Regions from separate parts of the Homo sapiens genome. Here regions 2 and 3 are each linked to region 1. Evidence: promoter capture Hi-C in 16 types of primary human blood cells and fetal thymus (Javierre and others, 2016). All regions are on one chromosome and are shown on one strand. The core of a region is centred on a gene start or on the middle of the fragment in contact, and the rest is flanking DNA. Distances in the headings are between cores, read along the strand shown.

What was found. The method cuts DNA at HindIII sites, captures the fragments that hold promoters and counts their contacts. A CHiCAGO score of 5 or more calls a contact.
Region 2: a contact is called between the fragment with the promoter of MYOZ3 here and the fragment with the promoter of GPX3 in region 1, in 1 of 17 cell types (naive CD8 T cells). The highest score is 5.9, in naive CD8 T cells.
Region 3: a fragment that was not itself captured here is called in contact with the fragment with the promoter of GPX3 in region 1 in 1 of 17 cell types (total CD8 T cells); the score reaches 6.2 in total CD8 T cells.

What each region holds. Positions count from the first base shown.
Region 1 is chr5:151,019,035-151,023,277 of GRCh38, forward strand. It overlaps GPX3 (glutathione peroxidase 3), which reads left to right and starts at 1,557. Exons shown (of 5, transcript NM_002084.5): 1 at 1,557-1,707. The coding sequence starts at 1,621. RefSeq lists an enhancer at 3,002-4,201. The HindIII fragment of the contact is 15,890 bases long and covers 1-4,243 here.
Region 2 is chr5:150,658,328-150,663,074 of GRCh38, forward strand. It overlaps MYOZ3 (myozenin 3), which reads left to right and starts at 2,924. Exons shown (of 7, transcript NM_001122853.3): 1 at 2,924-3,100; 2 at 4,614-4,675. The coding sequence starts at 4,615. SYNPO (synaptopodin) reads left to right here. Exons shown (of 3, transcript NM_007286.6): 3 at 1-880. The HindIII fragment of the contact is 2,456 bases long and covers 2,379-4,747 here.
Region 3 is chr5:150,551,224-150,555,932 of GRCh38, forward strand. NDST1 (N-deacetylase and N-sulfotransferase 1) reads left to right here. Exons shown (of 15, transcript NM_001543.5): 14 at 530-632; 15 at 1,990-4,709. The coding sequence ends at 2,109. Among named protein-coding and RNA genes, the nearest start is that of NDST1, 45 kb to the left of the region's middle. The HindIII fragment of the contact is 5,776 bases long and covers 1-4,709 here.

The DNA of each region.
Region 1 (4,243 bases), core at 307-2,806:
GCTGTGGTTTGAGGTGGGAAGACTTCGTAGAGAATGCAAAACTTGAGAGACATCTTCCAAATTCCCAGGGGGATGTTAATACCTTTAATCATAGTAAAGGTATGGTTTCTCAAGGCATTTCTTGGTCAGAAGAAAGTTCCAGAAGGCACTTAATCCTAGGACTCACACTACCAAGGCTACAGCCAGGCCAACTGCCTCACAATAACCTTAGAACATGTCTGAAGACAGATTTTCAGCTTCTGCCCCTAGAGATTCTAATGCAGTGATTCCAAAGTGGGGTCCAGGAATCTGTATTAAAGGCTTCCCAGTTGACTCTGGTGGTCAGAGAGATTTGAGACTGATTCCATCACATTCCCCATCTGTGAACGGGATCATACCTAGACAGCCCAGCCCTAGAACTGCCTGGTCTGATCCTAAGTGTTCCATGGAGATTTTGTTTTTTTAATGTAATGAATGATTAAGTCAGCAAATACTTTACATCTCTTGTGTGCTAGGCCCTGTGCCAGGTGGTGATTATGGGCCCTATTCTCAAAGGACTCCTGGTCTCCGTCTGTCACTTACTTTAGAAACAAGTCATCTAGCCAGAGCCAGAAGGGCACTGGAGATCACTAATCAATCCCATCATTACATAGCTGAGGAAACTGAGGCCCAGAGAGTAACTGCAACATGTTAAAGACTACACAGGGAGCAAATTTATTTTCTGCTTCTAAGCCAGGTGGTTTGGCCACAGATAGGCCAAGAAGAATACGAACAGACAAGCCTTGCTGGGTTTCCCACTCAGTTTATTACTATTAGACCATTCCCTTTTTCCCCACTCACATTTCTGCGCATTTCCATGGTCTTCATAGAATCTAAGCCTAAAAATAGAGTTTTCCTTGAGTCTTTGGGTCTTCATTTCTGAAGACTCTCATGTCACAGAAAACTTTAATTAAATAAATCGTTATGCTTTTCTCTTGCTAACCTTTTTCTACAGGCATGTCAGCTGTGATCCTTATGATGGGGAGGAAAGGCACCCCACCTTCTCTGTCCCTACAGTCCTAATGCCCTACCCAGAATGGGGTTTTCAAAATCCCAGGACACCCACTCTTTGTTTCTTAAGCACTAAACCTATATATAGTAAATGTTTCTGGAAGTTTAACTTCAGCTCTTGCTGAAATTTTAAACCCTCAATTTCCAGAGGACCATCGCCAGGTGTTTTTAAAACCTCGATAGGAATAAGAAATGCTTCCCAGAATGGAGACTTCCATCAGTTCTAGGGAGCTATTAGCCCCCTTGCCCTGGCTGTAATGGAGACCGCTGTGTCTGCCTCCTTTCGCACTTTGGAGCCAAAAGAGGAAGGGACCGCCTCCCACGTCCACAGGGACCTGACTTCCACCTCTCTGCCCAGATTTGCTTATGTCACTGTCGCCCCGGGACGGGGAGGTGGGGAGCTGAGGGCAAGTCGCGCCCGCCCCTGAAATCCCAGCCGCCTAGCGATTGGCTGCAAGGGTCTCGGCTTGGCCGCGGATTGGTCACACCCGAGGGCTTGAAAGGTGGCTGGGAGCGCCGGACACCTCAGACGGACGGTGGCCAGGGATCAGGCAGCGGCTCAGGCGACCCTGAGTGTGCCCCCACCCCGCCATGGCCCGGCTGCTGCAGGCGTCCTGCCTGCTTTCCCTGCTCCTGGCCGGCTTCGTCTCGCAGAGCCGGGGACAAGAGAAGTCGAAGGTGAGTGAGCCTCCGGGCCGGGGGCCGGGAGAAAAAACCTAGCCCCTCGGTGTCCAGCGCTCAGTGCAATGCACCCCTTTTCCCAGGCTCCCCGCCAGATGGGCAATCCCCAGGTGCGAGAGACCTCCTGAACCCCTTTTGCCGCCCCCTCCGCCGCCGGGACCCCGCCCCCGACCGTCGTCGTCTCGTAGTTCCATCTGTTGGAGAGCCGAGACCTGGTGCTTCAGGCGGGCAGAATGACTAAGGGAGGAAGGTCTCTCTCCCCGAGCTCGCACTTTCTCCCCACTGCCACCTCGAGGGTCGCCTTGCTACATCTATGTCACCTCCGTGCCTGAGCTGCTCCCCTTCAGTAGGGCCTAAGAGGGAGGGCGTCACAGAAAAAAATGCCCAGCGTCTGGGTGGGCTGTGCAAGTTCCCAGGGAGAGAGACAAGGAGAAAGGAGAGAGGCAGCTGGGTGGTCCTGGTCCTGAAGAACTGCTGTGGGGGGCTCTTCTACCCCAAGAATGATACAGGCAGGTAGAAATGGCCACTTGGATTCAGGGCATTGGTAGAAGAGGCAGAGATCTGTGCTAGAAAGAGCTCTGGAGTGACAGTGCAGAACACTCAGGACCCTGAGTCCTTACCTGCTCCTGGACCCCCGTTTCTCCATCTGCAGGGGAGAGTTTGGGGGTGGGAGTGCATGGGGCACAATGAAGCTGAGGGCCTCAGAGGGGATGCTTGGAGAAGCTGAAAAATCCACAAGCTGTTCTCTGAAATTTCCTCCCCTGGGGCAGCCTCACTACCCAGGACCCACTGTCCTCATTAGCCTGAGGAAACCTGGTAGTTGGAGAAAGCTGGGGACTGCTAATTCAGAAGAAGAGGTAGAATTCTCTAGAGCCTCAGTCTATTTCCAGCAGGTGTGTGGCCCACACCTGGAGTGGGGATACTGAGGCCAGGAGTGGGATGACCCAGCATGCTTATCTCCTTTGACAGTATGTACTGGGGTGGGCTCTGTAGACCTCTCCTCTACCCAGGGAGTGGGAGTGGGTGGGGAAGGAGGCAGAAGCCAGGTGTAGGGATAGACTCAAAGCGAGCGATTTCTGTCTCCAACTTCCCAACATGCATAACTCACATTTTTGCAAGCTCTGAGCTTTTGTTTCTAAAATCCTCTGGGTCTTCACTTTAATTAAGTTCTTATGAGTCTAGGATTCCGTTTCCAAAATTCTGTCCACTTCTCAGGAAGCCCATTGGAAGCACAGGGTTCCTTCCATGTTACTCACCCCTTTTCGGTCCTCAGCCTAAATCCGATTAATCAGCCTCTCCTTGGAGTCAGTCTAAATGGATGTGAAGCCACTTCGTCCAAGTCCCCTCCTTTTTATCCATCCCTGTTCATAATCCCCAACTCAGAAGGCATTTTCCAGGTCAGGAATGGGATCGATTTTCAACATTGAGGTTTGGGGTGGGCCATAGACAGGCCAGCACCGTGGAGTCAGTCCCAACCTTCAGTTTTGGAAAGGTCAAAGAAGATACAATTGGGCCCTGCCTCAAGAAGGCTAGTGGGGAGAACGTGGACTCCATGAATAACTCATCATAGCTGTGTCTTCTCTGCAGCACTCTGGGGAAGGATAAATGGACTCAGAGAGAATAGGATGGGGATGGTCTAGAAAAGTTTTAGGGTGAGGTGTGATCATATCACATACAACCAGTCAGGACTTGCTGGCTAATGAAAGCCTGGGCATGCCCATCTCTGCTCCCAAGTTCTTAGAGTTCAGATGTCTTAGCTCTGGGTTAGGACCCAACCACTCACCTTACCCCCAACCCCAGGGTAAAGAGATAGGGTTATGGGGCATGTGGAGAATGGAATGGACGAAAGGTGACTCAGCCCCAGAGAGGTGTTTTCCTCCTACCAATTGAAAGGGAGATGCTAGGGAAGAGACCAGGTCCTCCTCTTCTTGCTGCGTCACCTCCCCAGTCCAACTTCAGGCTGCCCACGCTCCTTGTCTCTACAAAAGGACTGCAGAAGCCGGAAAGAGTGACAACTGCTGACGTGCACGGGATCCTAGTAACTGCTGGTTTCTAGGTGACTAAACCTGGCAGAGAGAATCATGGAACCACAGGCTGACAGAGTTAAAGGGCCCTTAAGACAGCCCTGAACCTGACTCCATCTTACAATGGAGGAGCTGGAGCCCCAGCAAAGGGGGTCACATGGCATCAGAGACACAGCAAAGCCCAGCACTCAGGTCTCCTGACTCCCAGACCACTTCTCACAGCATCATATTGATAGGAGTAATAAGACGGGAGAGGAGAAAGACACAAGACCAGCAGCCCCAGCCAGCCAGAGTCCTGGCTGAGTCCCATCATCCAACTCTCAAGCCATTGGAACCCTCTTCTCTTGCCCGGCTGTGGGAGGATTCAGGCACCCTCATGGCCTCTCCCCTTATCTCCTCTGGCCACTGTTTCAGATGCGGTGCTCTGGGATTCCACGTGCCCAGAGAAGGGAAGGGGGCTCATAGAGGACTGAGTTGCAGTGATCAGTGGTGAGCACAGCCGTGGCTCT
Region 2 (4,747 bases), core at 1,674-4,173, 360 kb before region 1:
CTTCAGTGTCAGACCTCAGTCCCAGTGTCCATATCGTGCCCAGAAAAGTAGACATTATCCTGCCCCATCCCTTCCCCAGTGCACTCTGACCTAGCTAGTGCCTGGTGCCCAGTGACCTGGGGGAGCCTGGCTGCAGGCCCTCACTGGTTCCCTAAACCTTGGTGGCTGTGATTCAGGTCCCCAGGGGGGACTCAGGGAGGAATATGGCTGAGTTCTGTAGTTTCCAGAGTTGGCTGGTAGAGCCTTCTAGAGGTTCAGAATATTAGCTTCAGGATCAGCTGGGGGTATGGAATTGGCTGAGGATCAAACGTATGTAGGTGAAAGGATACCAGGATGTTGCTAAAGGTGAGGGACAGTTTGGGTTTGGGACTTACCGGGGTGATGTTAGATCTGGAACCCCCAAGTGAGGCTGGAGGGAGTTAAGGTCAGTATGGAAGATAGGGTTGGGACAGGGTGCTTTGGAATGAAAGAGTGACCTTAGAGGGCTCCTTGGGCCTCAGGAATGCTCCTGCTGCTGTGAAGATGAGAAGGTGCTCTTACTCAGTTAATGATGAGTGACTATATTTACCAAAGCCCCTACCTGCTGCTGGGTCCCTTGTAGCACAGGAGACTGGGGCTAAGGGCCCCTCCCAGGGAAGGGACACCATCAGGCCTCTGGCTGAGGCAGTAGCATAGAGGATCCATTTCTACCTGCATTTCCCAGAGGACTAGCAGGAGGCAGCCTTGAGAAACCGGCAGTTCCCAAGCCAGCGCCTGGCTGTTCTCTCATTGTCACTGCCCTCTCCCCAACCTCTCCTCTAACCCACTAGAGATTGCCTGTGTCCTGCCTCTTGCCTCTTGTAGAATGCAGCTCTGGCCCTCAATAAATGCTTCCTGCATTCTTCTGCCTCCTGTGTCATTTTCAGCTGTGTCTGATGTCCTTCCCTTCTCCCCAAGCATGGAGCAGTCCATGGGACTCTGGGTGGCTGGGAATATTTGAGACATATGGGATGGGAGCTTGGGAAGAAGCAGCCATGGGGAGAGATGGGAACAACGGACAACTTGAGGCCATAGAAGTACCTGGACTGCAGTCCTGGTCCTGTCATGGACGAGCGGGGTGACCCTGGGTGAGCCCACTCCTTCTCTAGGCCTCAGCTTCCCCATCCGTATAATGGGGAGAGTGGGTCTAGGTAATGTCTCAGGGTGGTATTGTCCAGGCCCTGACCACAGAGCACTATCACCAGAGTGGGCAGGGCCAAGCTGGGTCAGGGCTCTGTGCTCTGAGGCTGTTTCCTCATGGCAGGTGGGGGTGCCAGGGCAGGAAAGGCGCCACTGTAAGAGGTCCCGTCTGAGCCAGGCAGCCCCAGTGAGGCAAGGACTCGGGCCATGAGGCATCCTCTCCTGGCAGGAGTGTCCTTTGGCCAGAGAAGGGGATTGTGATCCTGCTCCCAGGTGAGGCTAAGCTTGCCCTGGGAACACACCTCACTCTTCCTCTCTAGAAGCTCAGGCCCACCGAGGGCCAGGAAGCTAAGGTCAGGGTGGTGGACAGCAGAATCTAGGCTTCTGATTTGAGAGGTGTCAGAAATACACCCCAGGATAGTCTGCCAGCACACAGACACCGGTGGTCCCCACCCTGCACCCAGCCCATCCTTGCTAGGCCCACCCTTCCCCAGGAGTGTGTGCCTTGGACCCAATCTTTATCTTCGGCTGGGGCCTCACTGCAGCACAGTGTCCCATTGCCTACTGGTGATCTCATCCCAGTCCCCCGACACCTCAAAGTTCATCCAAAACTGACCTCAGTGTCTGCCCCCACCCCTCCTGCTCCTCCCCTTCCAGTCACCCAAGCATGAAACAGGGGAGTGGGACTCCCTTTCCTCACCTTCCACATCCAGTTCCTCACCAAGACCCAAGGGTTCTTCAAATAACCCTCAACTCCCTCTCCTCTCCATCTCCTTGTCACTGCCCTGATCCAGCCACCCCTGGTGACAGTCAGGTCCTCCTGCCTCCAGTCTGGCCCCCTCCAACCCATTTCCCACATGGCAGCAAAGATATCTTTGGAAAATGCCAATCCGATCACTCCATTTCACCACTTTAATCTTGTCAGCAACCCTTTATAAACACAGTTTCCTTTTGAAAGCCTGCTGGGATCTGGCCGCTGCCCCCACTGTCTGGGCTAATCTCTCAGCACTGCCCCCAGCTCCGGCTCTACTTGCCAACCCCCTACCCATCTTTGTAGGTGACATGTCCACTGCCTGCCATGCCCCTTCTCTGCCCAGTGAACTCCCACTCATCCTTCAAGGCCCAACTCCAGTGTGTCCTCCTCTGGGAAGCCTTCTCACCCCCCACCCCAGGCTGAGCTGGTAACTCCCTCCCCTGGGCTCTCCCAGAGCCTTCCCCAAAGCTTGTTTACCCGTCTGAATCTGACCTGGCTGAGCTCCTTGAAGACAGAGCCCTGCCTTATTTATTTTCAGTCCTTAGAGAGAGGCTCAGGGAATGTGAGAAGGTAGAGGGAGGGAGGGAGGGAGGGAGGAGGGGAGAAAAGAAGGCAGGCAGGAAGGAGGCAGAAGAAGAAAGGCAGGAGAGAAGAAAGGAAGGAAGAAAAGGATAAGTCAAGCAAAGATATTGAGGAGCAATTCATTCATCCATCTATCTATCCATCCATTCCTTCCTTCGACAAATATCTGCTGAGTTCCTATCAAGCACCATTCTTGGCACTAAGGATATAACAGTTAACAAGCGGAAGCTACCAGCAGCTGACCCTCAACATTTCCAGGTGACTTTGGTGTGTGCATATGTGAGTGTGTGTGTACACGTGGGTGCAAGCCCTCTGTCTGCACAGGCCTGTTGCCAGGGCACCTGTCTTCCCTAGGGTCTGGTGCTTTTAGCCTCTGGCTCCAGCTCCTATTGCAGCCCGAAATAAGGCTGTGACCCATGGCAAGGCAGGAATGATTCTCATCAGCTGAAGCCAGAGCTGGCTGCAGGGGACACCCTGCTCGCTGCCTACTGACTGCTGACCGCTGACTGCCTACAGGGACGCCACGCAACTCTCAGCTTCCCGACAGAGGTGTTAATCTTGAGGGTCTAAGATTCCCTCCTGCCTATTGTGGTCCCATCCTCTCAGGTACCAGCATCCTAGGGGAGCTTGGGGAACTCAGGGGAGTGGGCAGAGGAGGTGAGCCAATCCCCAGAGCTCCTTCCCCCGGAGAGGAAGGGCCCTGCAGTGGATCTAGGGAGTTTGGGGCCCCATGCAAGCCTCGATCCTGGTTTGGGAGGAGAGGAACTCTAAGCTCTAGGTTACCCTGCATTAAATGGGGAGGGTGTGGCTAGGATTAAAGGTGGGGAATAGGTAATGGCTCTGCTCAGGACTTTGGGATTTTTAGGCAGTAGAGGGAAGCAGCTTCTCTGTAAAATGAGAGACCCTTCCCAGCATCTGTGAATTTCTGTAAAGGGAGTGTTTATCAAGAAACAGATCTGTGGACTGTGGAATCCTAAACGGTTGTGATCGAGGCATTCTCAATCATCCCATGACCCTCACCCCAAATGCATGTAGACACACTCATGTTTACGTATAGTTTTAGGGGGTTTGTGAACACCCTAAAGCCCATCCATGGATCTCTGTGATTTAGCCTAACCCCCTACTGTTACAGATGGGGGAACTGAGGTGCAGAGCTGGAAAGCTACTTGTTCGCAGTTACAGAGAAAGCCAGGGACACCCACTAGACTCCAGTTGCACAATGCAGTGCCCACTGACTCCCAGGGCCCCTTGTCGGTGTTGGGGATACAGATGAAGGCAGATTGTTTTCTAAAGGAAGGAGTATAGGAAAACCTGGAGGCAAAGGAGAAGGGTACCCAGGTGGGTGGTCAGTCGAGGAGCTCAAGGGCTCTGCCTCTTCTCCAGAGGGCAAGTTAAGGTACCTGGGCAAGTTAAGGGCTCTGGACCTCATTTTATTTGCAAATCTCTTCCAAGATTCTTTGAAAGTGCCATGAGATACAAATAGGGGGATGGAACAGGAGGAAGAGAAGGGACGAGGGAGAAGAGAACACCACGGAAGTTAGCCCAGTAGCGGGGAGATGGGGAGGACGGGGGATGGTTCTCTCTGCTTGGTTGGACCAGCCTGTGCCCTCAAGCGTCAGGGCCAAGTGCCAAGGATGAAAGGGGCTCACCAGCCTTGCAGACCCCAGTGTAACCCCAACCTAGTCCATCCTCCCCCTTCCCCTAACTTAAACCTCCAACTTCTTTCAGCCTTGGACTAGGACTCTCCTGGGTCAACCGATGACAGTAGTGCCTGAGACCTTTGCCTGCCCCACCCGGATGCCCCTGGCACCTACTCTCCCTCTGATCAGGATGCCAGAGCTGGGAAAAGGCCCTAGAAACCACCCCTGAAGAGACAGTGCTTCCCTAGCAACATGAAAATAGATTCGTGCAAACTTGAGCACCTCCCTCTCGTTCCCTGGGCCTCAGTCTCCTCTGCACGGAGACCCTGAAGTCCCTTCCAGCTCAGACATCCCTTGCTTGTGATTTGGGGCTGGCCTAAAGCTGTTCAGGACTGGGGCAGGGTGAACCAGAGACTGGAAGGAGGTCTGGGGAGAAATGGAGGCAGCCTGGTCCATTTATGGGGGTCTCTCCTCCACAGGATGATCCCCAAGGAGCAGAAGGGGCCAGTGATGGCTGCCATGGGGGACCTCACTGAACCAGGTAAGGTGGTTCTAGCCTCATGCCTTCCTCAGACTCCATCATTTCCTTGCTCCCAGGCTGCACTCACTCTGG
Region 3 (4,709 bases), core at 1,310-3,809, 470 kb before region 1:
TTTCTGAAGTTTACTCCAAAAAATGAAATTCTCCAGTGACAGGCATGCTTAAGTGCAGCTGTGGATACTGCATGTTTTGATAAAGATGAAATTTATTAAAAAGCAAAAGAACCTCCACTAAACACCCCTCTTCCCATTGACGCTGGGAGGGGTAAAGAAGGCTTCTTGGGTTTAAAAAAAAAAAAGAGTTACTCAGCATTGAGAATGCTCAGAAAAGATTTCCCAGAACACTGAAGGATGGGAAACTGTTCATGTTGTAGATTGCTGAAGCGGCTGTGGCTGGTCGGGCTGGAGGAGAGAAGACTCAGAATGTGCGAGCTGCCCTTTGCCGGAAGTAGGACAGGCACGTTTAGTGCAGCCTAGGACACATTTGATCCCACAGATGGCACATAGCTTCTGACAGTCCATGTGGGTTCAAGAGCAGTAGATTCCCTGGTCTCTGCCATTCCTGGGGTCCATGAACATGGCTTTAAGGTCGGAAGTGGGTGGCTGAGCCAGCTCCCATCCAAAGACTTTCCCACCTCCACAGGTTTGATCCAAAGAAAGGATTTTGGTGCCAACTGCTTGAAGGAGGAAAAACCAAGTGTCTGGGCAAAAGCAAGGGCCGGAAATATCCCGAGATGGACTTGGATGTAAGTGGTGGACACACTACCTGTAGCACCTGCATAAGGGTAAGGGGTCCCTGTATGGAGTTGAGGGGGATTCTCTTTCCTTTACCATGCACTCAGCATGTTCATGGCCTTAGCATTTCTTGGACAGTATTTGTAAGAGGAGGAAAATGGGGGCTGGGACATGGTGGGTCAGACCTGATTTCGTCAAACAAGTGTTGGTTACCTTCTACTAAGGGCTGAGTGCTGTGGGGTTTTGAGGATGAGCCAGACATGTTCTCTGCCTTCAAGGAACTCCTGGTCTTGGAGGGGTATGAGTCCCAACACCACTAAGTAGAATACAGGCAGAGAGTGCTGCGCGCAGTCAGAGAGGGCACACAAGTGCTATGGGAATTCAGAACAAGGGGATGTCACTTGAACCTGAGAGGGGTAAAAAAGGCTCCTTAAAGGAGGGATGGGGGTCTCTGGAGTTGCGCCTAGAAGGATGAGATCCATTTTGTAGGATTTGGACATATGGAATGGGAGGGTAGGTAAGAACAGCATGTGTAAAACCATAGGGGGAAAAAAGAAATTTTAAAAATATATAGAAAAAGGGTCACAGACTGGGGGTCTTGTTACTTCCTCCTTTTCCTACTTGCTTCTGTTTTTGTTTTGTTTTGTTTTGTTTTGTTTTTGAGACAGGGTCTCGTTCTGTTGCCTAGGCTGGAGTGCAGTGGCATGATCATGGCTCACAGTAGCCTCGACCCCCTGGGCTCAATCGATCTTCCCGCCTCAGCCTGCCATAGTGCTGGTATTATAGGTGTGAACCACCGTGCCTGGCCCTGGCCCTGCCCGCCTTGGGTTTTGATTATTAATTCTCTCTCCTCTCCCTATCAGAAGAATTTTGACTTAGTGAGCTATATTTTGATGCTCCTGCCAACTGGGAGTTCACTATTGGAGGCTACCATTTAGAAGGAGATTGTGGATAAATAAGAGGTGTATGGGGGGTGGTGCCAGCAGCATGGTGGGTTTTTTGTTTTTTTGTTTTCTTTTGAGACGGAGTTTCGCTTTTGTCACCCAGGCTGGAGTGCAATCGCGTGATCTTGGCTCACTGCAACCTCCGCTTTCCGGGTTCAAAAGATTCTCTTGCCTCAGACTCCCGAGTAGCTGGGATTACTGGCGCCCACCACCTCACCCCGCTAATTTTTGTATTTTTAGTAGGGTTTTCCCATGTTGGCCAGGCTGGTCTTGAACTCCTGACCTCAGGTGATCCACATGCCTCGGCCTCCCAAAGTGCTGGGATTACAGGCATGAGCCACCGTGCCCGGCCGAGCATGGCGATTTTTAGAGGAGGTCACTCTTAAGTCAGTACACAAGGTCTGAGCTTTCCTTCCCGTTACAGTCCCGAGCCTTCCTGAAGGACTATTACCGGGACCACAACATCGAGCTCTCCAAGCTGCTGTATAAGATGGGCCAGACACTTCCCACTTGGCTACGAGAGGACCTCCAGAACACCAGGTAGCCGTGGCCACCACAGCCAGACTGAACGTTTGTGAAAGCTGGGACATCCCACCACACGCTGAGCCAGACCTGCAGAGTGGGAAGCTGGACCAGGGCAGCTGCGCACTTATGAGCAATACTCTGTGGAGGTCTGGTGGGGCTGGGGGAGCACCCAGGCGGATCTGCAAGCACCTCGGAGCACCCACCGCTGGGTCTGCGGCCTAAGGGACCTCCCTCGCCAGCAGAGGTCCATTCCGTTCCCAGCTGCTCCTGGGGAGGCCGCTTCCTGGTAGGAGGGAGTCCACGAGACTCTTTTCTGTCCCTCACTGTGTTCCGCCGACTGTCCCCTCTCGTCACCCATCACTCCCTGCTTCCGCAGGGCGCCCCTCAGTATTCGCTGCCATATGTCCCTGTCCTCCAGGCTGTAGGGGAGGAGAGCCTGGCCGGGGGAGACAGACTGGACATTTCCCTGTTTCGAGCCAGGCTCTTCCAAGGGGCCAGCTGGGTCCCCGGAGTCAGTCCTAGGCTGGATGGGAGGGTGGCCCCCTCAAGAGGACTCCCAGCCTCCACATCTGGTTCCTACCTTCACATCTCACCCTCCCGTTCTGGGGAAGAATTTCTGGTTCCTACAGTATCCACTCCATCCTCAAGGCTTCCCGCAGGGCCTTGGGGCACTGCCTTGCCATCGGGCCCAGTTCTCCGGGCCCCACCTGCACCCCTTTCTTCCCCCTGGGATATGATGTGTGGTGTTTCCTGTGGTAAAAGACTGAGGCAGGCCAGGGGTCTGCCAGTAACATGTTCCCATGTACAGACACGGTCCCCACACCCTCCCAGCCTCAGGCCCAGGCAGACATGGGCGAGCTGGTGAGACTGCCAGCCACGGCTTTGCTTAGCCACCTGTGGCCGAGGGCTCTCAGAGACCCCCTTAACCTCCCAAATACTAAGAAGCTAAAATATTTTAATATTTTGTTTTTTTTTTTCTTGGTGCCAGAGTTTATACCCTGGGTGCTGGGGTCGCACTGTGTTATATATATATATATATATATATAATGTGTATATATATATATTCTATTTTTTTTGGTTGGGTTCGTTTTTAATTCAGTCCTACAAAATGGTGGTAAGCCCCAGTCTCAGGGGTCACCCTGTCTTAGAGCTAGAGATGAGGTGGCAGGGAGGGAGGCTGTGTCCTCAGTGGCCTGGGGCTGAGCAGACCTTAGGAAGGGGCCCTCCCCAGTGCCGTGGCTGCTCTGGGGCTACCCCAGGTGAACAGAGGTGGTGAGATGCGCAGGGAAGACCAGCTCTCTCCAGGACATCGGGCTGCGTGAAGTCCAGTGACCCTGAGGGGATTTTGGCCAAAGGAAACAGCCAGGGCTGGGCTAGGAGAGCTGGGGTCAAAAGCTGCCCCACCCACTCTCCCTCACATGGTGCTAGGCTGGGAGCTGCCCTGAGAGCTGGGATGCCCACCAAGGCCCACAGAACTGTCTCCAGGCCCTTGTAGACAGTGGGATCTCTGGGCTGATTTCTGGTTGGGGTCTGCTCCTACCCCACCCCATTTAACAATGTGAAGTGACTGAGGCTGGGGTGCCTCTCCCTGGCCCCCTCCAACTGCCAAATTCTGCTTCCCTCTGAACCCCAGGAAATACTTTCTGGAGAGGCTTGTCTTGTTCAGAAGACTCTAGCATCTTGGGGCTGGAAGGTCCTTTGACGGGTATGAAACAGGTCCAGAAAGGGGAGGTGGCCTGCTTGGCCGACGTCATGGAGCCAGCTGGGAGCAGGGCTGAGCGTTGAACCCGAGGCTCCCGGTTCCAAGTCCCATCGTGCTCCTCTTCCAATGCCACACTGCCTCTGAGCCCATCCTTGGGACCCTACTCTGTGCCAGGTTCCTGTCCCTTCCTCCGTCACAGCATGGTCATTCCAGGATATGGGGACAAACCACTCCTTCCCAGCCAGGGTGCCTTTGAGCCTTCTCATTCCGAGGTCTGCGTTTGCATCCCTGTCGTGTTCTCCCTCGAGGGGTCCTTCCCCAGCCTGTGGGGGCCTGGGTCTGTTCTGAGCTGATTCCCTTTTCTCCAGTTCTCTGCTGGGATGAAGAAAGTTGGACACTCAGTGGGACCAGCTGCAGGTGGTTTCACTGTGTACACAGCAGTGTCCCCATCATGCCTCTCAATGGGGCCTGCAAGCCTGGGAACTTGGGCATCGTTGGGCCAGCAGGATGAGCAGCAAAGGGTCTGAGGACAGGGTGGCATGTCTGCTTGTGTGCTCATGAAGACATGCCCACGCCATGGAGCCAGGGGCTTATAGAGAGGGGCAGTGACTTCCAGAGTCCCATCCGTCAGTGAGGGGACTGGGCTGCGGGATGGGTGAGGATCTTACAGCTCCCAGGTTCGGAAATCTACCCTCTAGGCCTGGAGGCCTCTCTCGCAGAGCATGGAAGGCAGGAGAGGTGGGCTGGCCTAGGGCAGGAGCTCCACTTCTCTCTGCCTCTGGCTATGGGAAGGAGCAGGCGGTTGGAAATCCTGTGACAGCAGAGATCTTCTGGATTTTTGCCTGGACCCTTCTGCAAGCCTGGAGACTGGACCTGCCACATGTTCCAAGTCTGTCTGCCTAGGTCACTGCTGCCAC